Linked DNA regions of Homo sapiens: region 2 is linked to region 1. Evidence: promoter capture Hi-C in human tissues and cell types (Jung and others, 2019). All regions are on one chromosome and are shown on one strand. The core of a region is centred on a gene start or on the middle of the fragment in contact, and the rest is flanking DNA. Distances in the headings are between cores, read along the strand shown.

Evidence for each region. Contacts are between HindIII fragments. The study calls those that stand out against the background at their distance.
Region 2: a fragment that was not itself captured here is called in contact with the fragment with the promoter of MGAT5B in region 1 in 2 of the 25 tissues and cell types used here (pancreas and psoas muscle).

What each region holds. Positions count from the first base shown.
Region 1 is chr17:76,866,768-76,870,573 of GRCh38, forward strand. MGAT5B (alpha-1,6-mannosylglycoprotein 6-beta-N-acetylglucosaminyltransferase B) reads left to right here and starts at 1,637. Exons shown (of 18, transcript NM_001199172.2): 1 at 1,637-2,330. The coding sequence starts at 2,263. RefSeq lists an enhancer at 840-1,134 and a silencer at 1,472-1,781. The HindIII fragment of the contact is 29,656 bases long and covers 1-3,806 here.
Region 2 is chr17:76,825,291-76,829,096 of GRCh38, forward strand. All of the region lies in intron 1 of LOC107985089 (a long non-coding RNA gene), which reads left to right. Among named protein-coding and RNA genes, the nearest start is that of LINC02080, 28 kb to the left of the region's middle. RefSeq lists an enhancer at 644-1,460. The HindIII fragment of the contact is 4,604 bases long and covers 1-3,806 here.

The DNA.
Region 1 (3,806 bases), core at 387-2,886:
TGGCCCAAGCCAGCCGTCAAATGGCAGAGAGGCTTTCCCGCTCCAACTTCAAAGTCCAGATCTAAGGGTGTGTGGCCCAGGGGAAGAGGGGAGTACCTTCCCCTACCTTCTAAATTCTGGCTTCTGTGGAGGGTAGGCCACCTCCCCAGATGACCCACACCAGAGGTGGCCATGCCTTCTAGGGAACCCCATCTCCACCACTGAGGAAGAGGCTTCCCCTTTGGCCTAAAATGGCAACCAGATATAAATGCCACCCCCTAAGCCTACTCAATCAGAAGAACCCCCAATCAGAAGAGAGACACCTAATCAGAAGGACCATTTCATTCCTTAGTGTAGATATGGCTTATTGCCAGGATTTGTGGCAGATGTAGGCACCCAGGCATGAGATGTGATTTACAGGCCTGGCAGAGACCTCTGCCCTCCAACATCTCCTTAGCCAGCCTGCCACGATGCCCAAATTTCCGGCCACCATTCATCACTCTTCTGCACAAAGGCACGGTCAGCATGTCCTTGTTCAATGCAAATTTGTTACCTAGCCTGTGTAACACATTATATCTGCTAACACCAATTTATCACCCATTTTCACATTAGCAGAGAGCAAGGCAGTGAGATAATGGAACTCAGCACCGGTAAATTTTGATGAAGAAGGAGCAGCAAAGCAGAGAGCGTGAGTCATGGCCAGTGAGTAATGGCCCAGGAAGGGGGCCGGGAGGTGGGCAGGGCAGGCAGCAAGGGGCCTGGGTATGGGGGATTGGAGGGGACCAGGCCCAGCTGGAGGAAAATAAAGTCTCCTCCTCGCATAAGCCAGGCTGCAGCATCGTGGCCTGAGCTGGGAAGACCCTCAGAGTCATTTGACACATGACTGAGGCTTTGGGCACTTCCCAGGGTGGGGTGGTCAGATATGACCTCGGGAAGTGCTTTTGAAGCCGGAGAGCTTTCTTCAGGCTGGCTCTGCGAGCTCCCAGGAGTCTCTGTCTCTGCAACTGCAAACACATCTCCAGAGCCAGGAAGTACGAGGAGGGGGAGGGGAGGACGCCTAGATGCTAAGAGACGACATGAGATCCTACATGCTTTAGGGTTGCAAGGGACCTTGGTGAGCTTCTGGTCACTATCATTTCATAATGGAGACTCTGAGACGTGCACACTTGATCGCCCACTGGCTAGTGGAGGATCTGGGGCTACAACTCAGTACGCCCCTGCGCCTGGCTCTGTGAGCGGGCCCCAGCACCACAGGCCGAGTTTATACTCAGATCAGTAAGCAAAGAGGAGCCACGGGAGTTTCTGACCAGGGAGGGGCAGAAGATAGGCATGTGTTGCCAAGCGAAATCGTGGGAAGCGGCTGATGAGGAAGCCCACGGAGGCACCTGGCAGAAGAGAAGGGTCTCCGCTGGGTGCGCATCTCTTCTGTGCTCTGCGGGAGCCAAAGCAGCTTTCGGCCCTCGGGGCTGGTGGCGCCCTGGGAAGCTGCTTGGCTCAGGGGAAGGAGCAGGGACCCCCGCCCGCCCGTCCTCGAAGCTGGTCCTCGGCGTCCCAGCCCCGCACGGCCCCGGGCAGGGCGCACAGCGGGGCTGCGGCCACGAGGTGGCGCCGGCGCGCCTTGGAAGCGCAGCTGCAGCTCCCGGGCCGCCCCAGCGCCGCTCGGCCGCCTCCTCCGAGGAACAATGCGGCGCCTCCGGGCGTAGCGTCGCGCGGGGCCGGACGCCGGACACCAGAGCGCGGGCGGCGGAGCCAGCGGGCGAGAGAGCGCGCGGCGGGCGCGGGTTGCCCTCGTCGAGAGCCATGGGCGCGGCGCGGCGCGGGGCTGAGGATCGGCGCGGCCCGGAGGCGCTGGGGACCGGGGCGCGGGCCCGGGGCCGCCTTTAGCCGGCACCGAGGGCGCGGGGCCGGGGATGAGGGCGCCCGCCGCGGGGAGCCCGTCTGCGCGCCGCGGCACCTTCCCGCCCAGCGAGCGAGCCCGAGCAGGCAGACGCGCGGCCGGCGGTCTGGGGGCGCGCCGCCTCCCGGTCCCCAAAATGTGAAGCGGGGAGGGCGGAGACGCAGAGACGGCCCGGCCGGGCGCCCTCGCCGCCCTCCGGCAGCCGCGCCGCTCCCTCCGCTGCACGCCCAGGCCTGAGCAGCGAGGCCACCGGGCCGCGCGCTCCCAGCTTCGCTCGGACGCGGCTTCGGCCCGCAGAGGGTTCGTGGCCCGGACGCGGCGAGAGCTGGGCCCAGGACGGTGCGTCCGGCCTCGCCCGCGGCTGCTCGCACCAACAAGTTTGAACAATGATCACCGTCAACCCCGATGGGAAGATAATGGTCAGAAGATGCCTGGTCACCCTGAGACCCTTTCGGTAAAGTTCCCTCCTGGTTGGTTTTTTCCCCAGGGGGGCGCCGGGTGGAGGTGGGCGAGGTCGGTTCCTGCGAACGTTCAAGTCCTGGTGGCAGAGGGGGCGGTTCACACTTCAACCCCTGGTGATGACCAGTGGGGCTGGGCTGGGGGAACGGATGGCGTTGGGGTTCGGGGTGCGGATGGGGAGGGTTGTGTTATTCGGGGACCTGTCCCGAGTTGGGCAGGGTTGGAGAGGACTCGGGGTGCAGAGGTAAGAATGGGGGCAGAAAACCCCCAGGTCGTGGTCCTGGGCCCAGAAAGTTGCCCCAGCCTGCGCGCCCCTTCCCAGCCCCTCAGGGTCCTTCCTCACCCCGCGGACGGTCCCATCCGGGTGGCAAAGTTAGTGTGCGGCGCCTTGGAGCTCCCCCTCCGGTCCCTCCCGTCCCGCCCGTCTGCCCCTAGGTCGGCTACCCCCCAACCCCTCCGCCTGTGCCACCCTCTCCCCAGCCTTTGGTGGCACTGCTCTCCTCCCCGCGGGGCTCGGGCCTGGCTCCGACGAGAGGGTCCCGAGATTAGAGCGAGGACTCGCTCATCCCAGGATTCGCCCCCGATCGCAGGCGTCGGAGAGGCGGGGGCAGGGGCGGCGCTGCAGGGCTACGGGGCGGCTGGAGCCGAGGCTGCGGCGGAGCGTGGTGGGCGGGCGGTGGCGAAGGCGACACGCTTCGGGCGGCCAACACCTGGGGGCCCAGGCCAGGCAGGGCTGGGGCCGCGCGGGACTCACTGGACCCAGCCAGGGGCCCCCAGGGCCCAGCGGTGCCGGGGCAGCCCCCTCTCCTCCCAGGCATCCGCGGAACCGGCCCGCAGCGGGGTGGGGAGGGGGCGCTGCCCAGTGGACGCCCGGCGGGGCCCGAGTGTCACCCCGTGGGTAGCTGGGCAGCGAGGAAGCTGGGGGAGTGACCGCCCCGGCGCGGGGGCCGGACTCGGGACGTGGCCACAGGTGGGCTCCGGGCGCGGGAAGGAGCCCGAGAAGGCGGAGCTTGCAGGGGCCCTGAACTCTTGCCCTCCAGGTCTCGGCCCAGCCCCACTGTGGTCCCCCTGCCGGCTCCAGACGGGGATGGGGGCGGGGAGACGGTGGCTCACCTGGAGCCCGCCTCCCAGCACACCGGGCCTGTCTGCTGGGCCGAGGAGGCAACCCCAGGGGACGGCAGGGGTCAGGCTGGACCTCTGCGGTCCGGGGGTCCGGGAGGCCCGGAGAGCTGGTGCAGGCCGTGGGTGGTGATGGGGGCGTCGGGAGCCCATGGGAAGCAGGGCGGGAAGCAGGCGTCTCTGGAAAGGGCCTTGCTCCTCCAGGGAAGGCCTTGAATCCCTGGCCTGACTGGGAACGCTGGAGGGTCCTCGCCCCTTCCGACCCCATCCCTGTCCCGCCCTCCGGGCCGCTGGGTGTTTCCTGGCGCGATTGGAAGCAGCCGCGAGACCCCAGCACCACGGACAGTGCTCG
Region 2 (3,806 bases), core at 574-3,073, 41 kb before region 1:
CTTCGGCAAATAATGTTTTTCCAAGTAAGGCCTCATTCACAGATTCTGGAATGTGGATGTAGCTTTTTGGGGGTCACTATTCAACCCACTGCAGAGGAGGTGCGTGTGCATTGGGTGCAGTGGCAGCTGTGTTTCTGAGCTGTCCTTCCCTCCAGGGGCTCTCTACAAGTGGGGCTGCAACGTCCTAGGGCAGCCTCTCTCTCCTGTCTCCCTCTCTCCAGCACCTTTGCCTCACTTTATAAACGCTTTCCCTCTTGAACATATTAACAAACTAAAGACCATTTTTATTTTTTTAAAATTTGAGGTGGAGTCTCGCTCTGTTGCCCAGGCTGGAGTGCTGTGGCTCGATCTCCACTCACTACCTCCTCCGCCTCCTGGGTTCAAGTGATTCTCCTGCCTCAGCCTCCCGAGTAGCTGGGATTACAGGTGCCCACCACCACGCCCAGCTAATTTTTGTATTTTTAGTAGAGATGGGGTTTTGCCATGTTGGCCAGGCTGGTCTCGAACTCCTGAACTCAAGTGATCCGCCCACCTCGGCTTCCCAAAGTGCTGGGATTATAGGCATGAGCCACCACACCCAGCCAAAAGACCATTTTTCTTAAGACCATGACCCCTTGAACTCCATTCATCCAATTTTCCTTAGCTCCCAGACTGCCTATCAAAGCCATTCACATTCCTTGTGTCACCACCGTGGGCCCTGTCCTCTTTACTCTGTGCCATCTGCCAGGCAGCCTGCTTTCCCAGGGGCACCCACAGCCCCCTGGTAGGTACATGGAGTCTCTCTTCCTGGACTCGGCATCCTCTGTCTCTTTCCTGTGTTTTGTGTAGTGGGAGTTGGCGGAGGGATTCCCTCCCTCAGCCTCATGACCCTCCCCAGTTTAGCATCCATGGACCCACTGGGGGTCGAGCACCAGCAGTGAACAGACCTGGGGTCTCAGTTTGACCCCTTCGTAGCTATGTGACAGTGTTGAGGGAGGCACCTCTTCGCTGGGTCCTGGTGTACTCGGCTGTACCACACAGGCCCTCAAGGCACCGTGGAGGGCAGGACTGGACAGAGCAGTGGCAGGTGCCCGTGAGCGGAAGGGGAGCATTGAGGTGGAGGTAGCCAATTCTGTTTCTCCCTGCGCTGGTCCCTGTGAGTGAGTGTGTGTAACTTCCACATGCAAGGGCGGCTGCTGTCCAACATGAGGCAAGCAGGACTTCTCTCCCCCACTCTGCGCTGAGGATGGGCTGGGGAGGAAACGAGGCCTGAAGGCGTCCAGGCTCCGGGATGTCTCCCTCTGCACCGGTCTCATCATTTCGGTGCAGATTGAGGTTTCTTCTTGTGAAGGCTGTTAACAACCAAGTGAGAGCCGGGCTATCAAATGCCGAGTAATAAGATGCCTGTACCTGCTGCTTCCTGGCCGGAGTGATGGTGCATTTCTGCTGCTGAAATTGCATGTGGATTAATTAAAACGGGAGTAAGTATTTCTCCTGAATTATTCACCAGCTTCCAGGAGATGGAACCATCACTGTGGCGTCTTGTTACAGGAGTGCTGTGGCCTCTCCTCTGGTGGAGCACCGGAAGTGGAAGGCACGCTCCCGGGGCTGGGGCGTGCATGTAGGGGGTGCGGTGAAGCTGATCAGTTCTGTGGCTTTGAATCCTTGCATATCCGGAAGTCACAGAGAATTGGAAATGCCCTGCACGGGAGAGGCCAGCGGAATAACCCTCTAGAAAGTTCTCCTGCAGAGAAGTAGGAGCCTCCTCTTCCTTCCTTTTTTCCACTGACGAGGGCCTGCACTCCGCAGGGAGGCCTCAGGAGACTCGGTTTCCATCCTGCCTCTGGTCGGGGCAGTGGCCTCTCCATGCCTGATGGCAGGTCTGGGCTGAGCAAGGGGCCCCTAGGTGTCCCAGTGGTGCTTGTGGGCTGTTCTTGTATCTGACTGTGGAGTGTCAGAGTGTGTGTTCCATGCCCGCCTGGCCCTTGTGTGGGTATTTGTGGGTGCCTCTGTGTGCTGTGTATGAGGGTGCCACTGGAACGGGGCTGACCAAGCTCTTGGCCAATGATCCCATCCACCTTTGGTCCCTTGTGCTAGTGGGAAGGGCTGAGGGTGCTGGTCTGAGCCTTCTGGATGACCCCTCAGTCCTGACACTGGTTCTTCAGATGAGGTTGGCTGTCCCTTCCCCACGTGGTGGCTCTTTTTATTTTTATTTTTTTGAGATAGGATCTCACTCTGTTGCCCAGGCTGGAGTACAGTGGCATGATCTTGGCTCACTGCAACCTTGACCTCCCCGGGCTCAGGTGATCCTCTCACCTCAGCCTCCCCAGTAGCTGAGACCACAGGTGCGTGCCACCATGCCCAGCTAATTTTAACAACTTTTAGTACAGATGAGGTTTCACCATGTTGCCCAGGCTGGTCTTGAACTCCTGAGCTCAAGCAATCTGCCCACCTCAGCCTCCCAACGTGGGTGGTTCTTGATCAGTCCCCACAGATAATTTTTCTCTTGGGCCACCTTGACTGGAGACGCCTCATCTGCATGGGCCCTTTGCCGTGCCGTGCCGTGCCGTGCCATGCCGTGCTCATCCCGTTTCTCTTTCCAGGCCACAGGTCCACCCTGCTCCGGCCCCAGTGTCTTCTTACTCACTCTCCCTTCCCCTTGGGCCAATTTCCAAGCTGCCTCTGCGACTGGAGTTTAGCCAAGGCGAGCTCAGTTACACATACCTGAGCATGCACCCCAGCAGGCCTTTCCTGGGGCACTAGAGCTCTTTCTTTTCTTTCTTTTTTTTTTTTCTGAGACGGAGTCTTGCTCTGTCGCCCAGGCTAGAGTGCAGTGGTGCGATCTCGGCTCATTGCAACCTCTGCCTCCTGGGTTCAAGCGATTCTCCTGCCTCAGCCTCCCGAATAGCTGGGATTACAGGCACCTGCCACTGCACCTGGCTAATTTTTGTATTTTTAGTAGAGATGGGGTTTCACCATCTTGACCAGGCTGATCTCGAACTCCTGACCTCGTGATCCACCCACGTTGGCCTCTCAAAGTGCTGGGATTACAGGCGTGAGCCACCGTGCCCAGCCTAGAGCTCTTTCTAAGATAGACTCTCTTTTAATAAATGACTTTCAGGAAGATGGATGCTTATGTGTATCCTGCAGCAAGAGGATGAGTCAGTAGGACATGTCAGGGGTGTGGAGGGAATCTTTGAAGCTAGCGGGGCCTGGCACAGGGTATTGGCATTGGATCTGGGCAGAGCCAAGGAGTCCAGGCTGCCTCTCTCCATGGGGACACCTGCACCCTCCTGGCCGAGGGAAGGCAGGCAGCCAGCAGGGTACTTCGGCTGGGATCTGAGTGTAATGAAATATCGAGCAGTCTATTTTATGGATGGATTCTTCTCATACGTTCAAGATATTAAAATAAAAATTATTCTTAAAAGCTTGAATTGGAATAGAAGTAATGTCCCACAGTAAGCAAGGTAGATACCCCTTTGGCTGGCACTAAATTTTCTCCGAAATAGGCTGTTTTTTATGTAGAAGAGGGAGAGAGAGTCATCGTAGGTAAGTCAGACAAACTGAGCTTCTTAGCTTCAGAAACCTGAAAACAGGCTGGGCATGGTTGCTCACACCTGTATTCCCAGCAGTTTGGGAGCCTGAGAAGGGAGGATCACTTGAGGCCATGAGTTCAAGACCAGCCTGAGCAACATAGTGAGACTCTGTCTCTCCCAAAAAAAAAAAAAAAAAAAAAAATAGCCAGGCATGGTGGCACATGCCTGTAGTCCCAGCTACTTGGGAGGCTGAGGTGGGAGGATCGTTTGAGCTCAGGAGGTTGAGGCTGC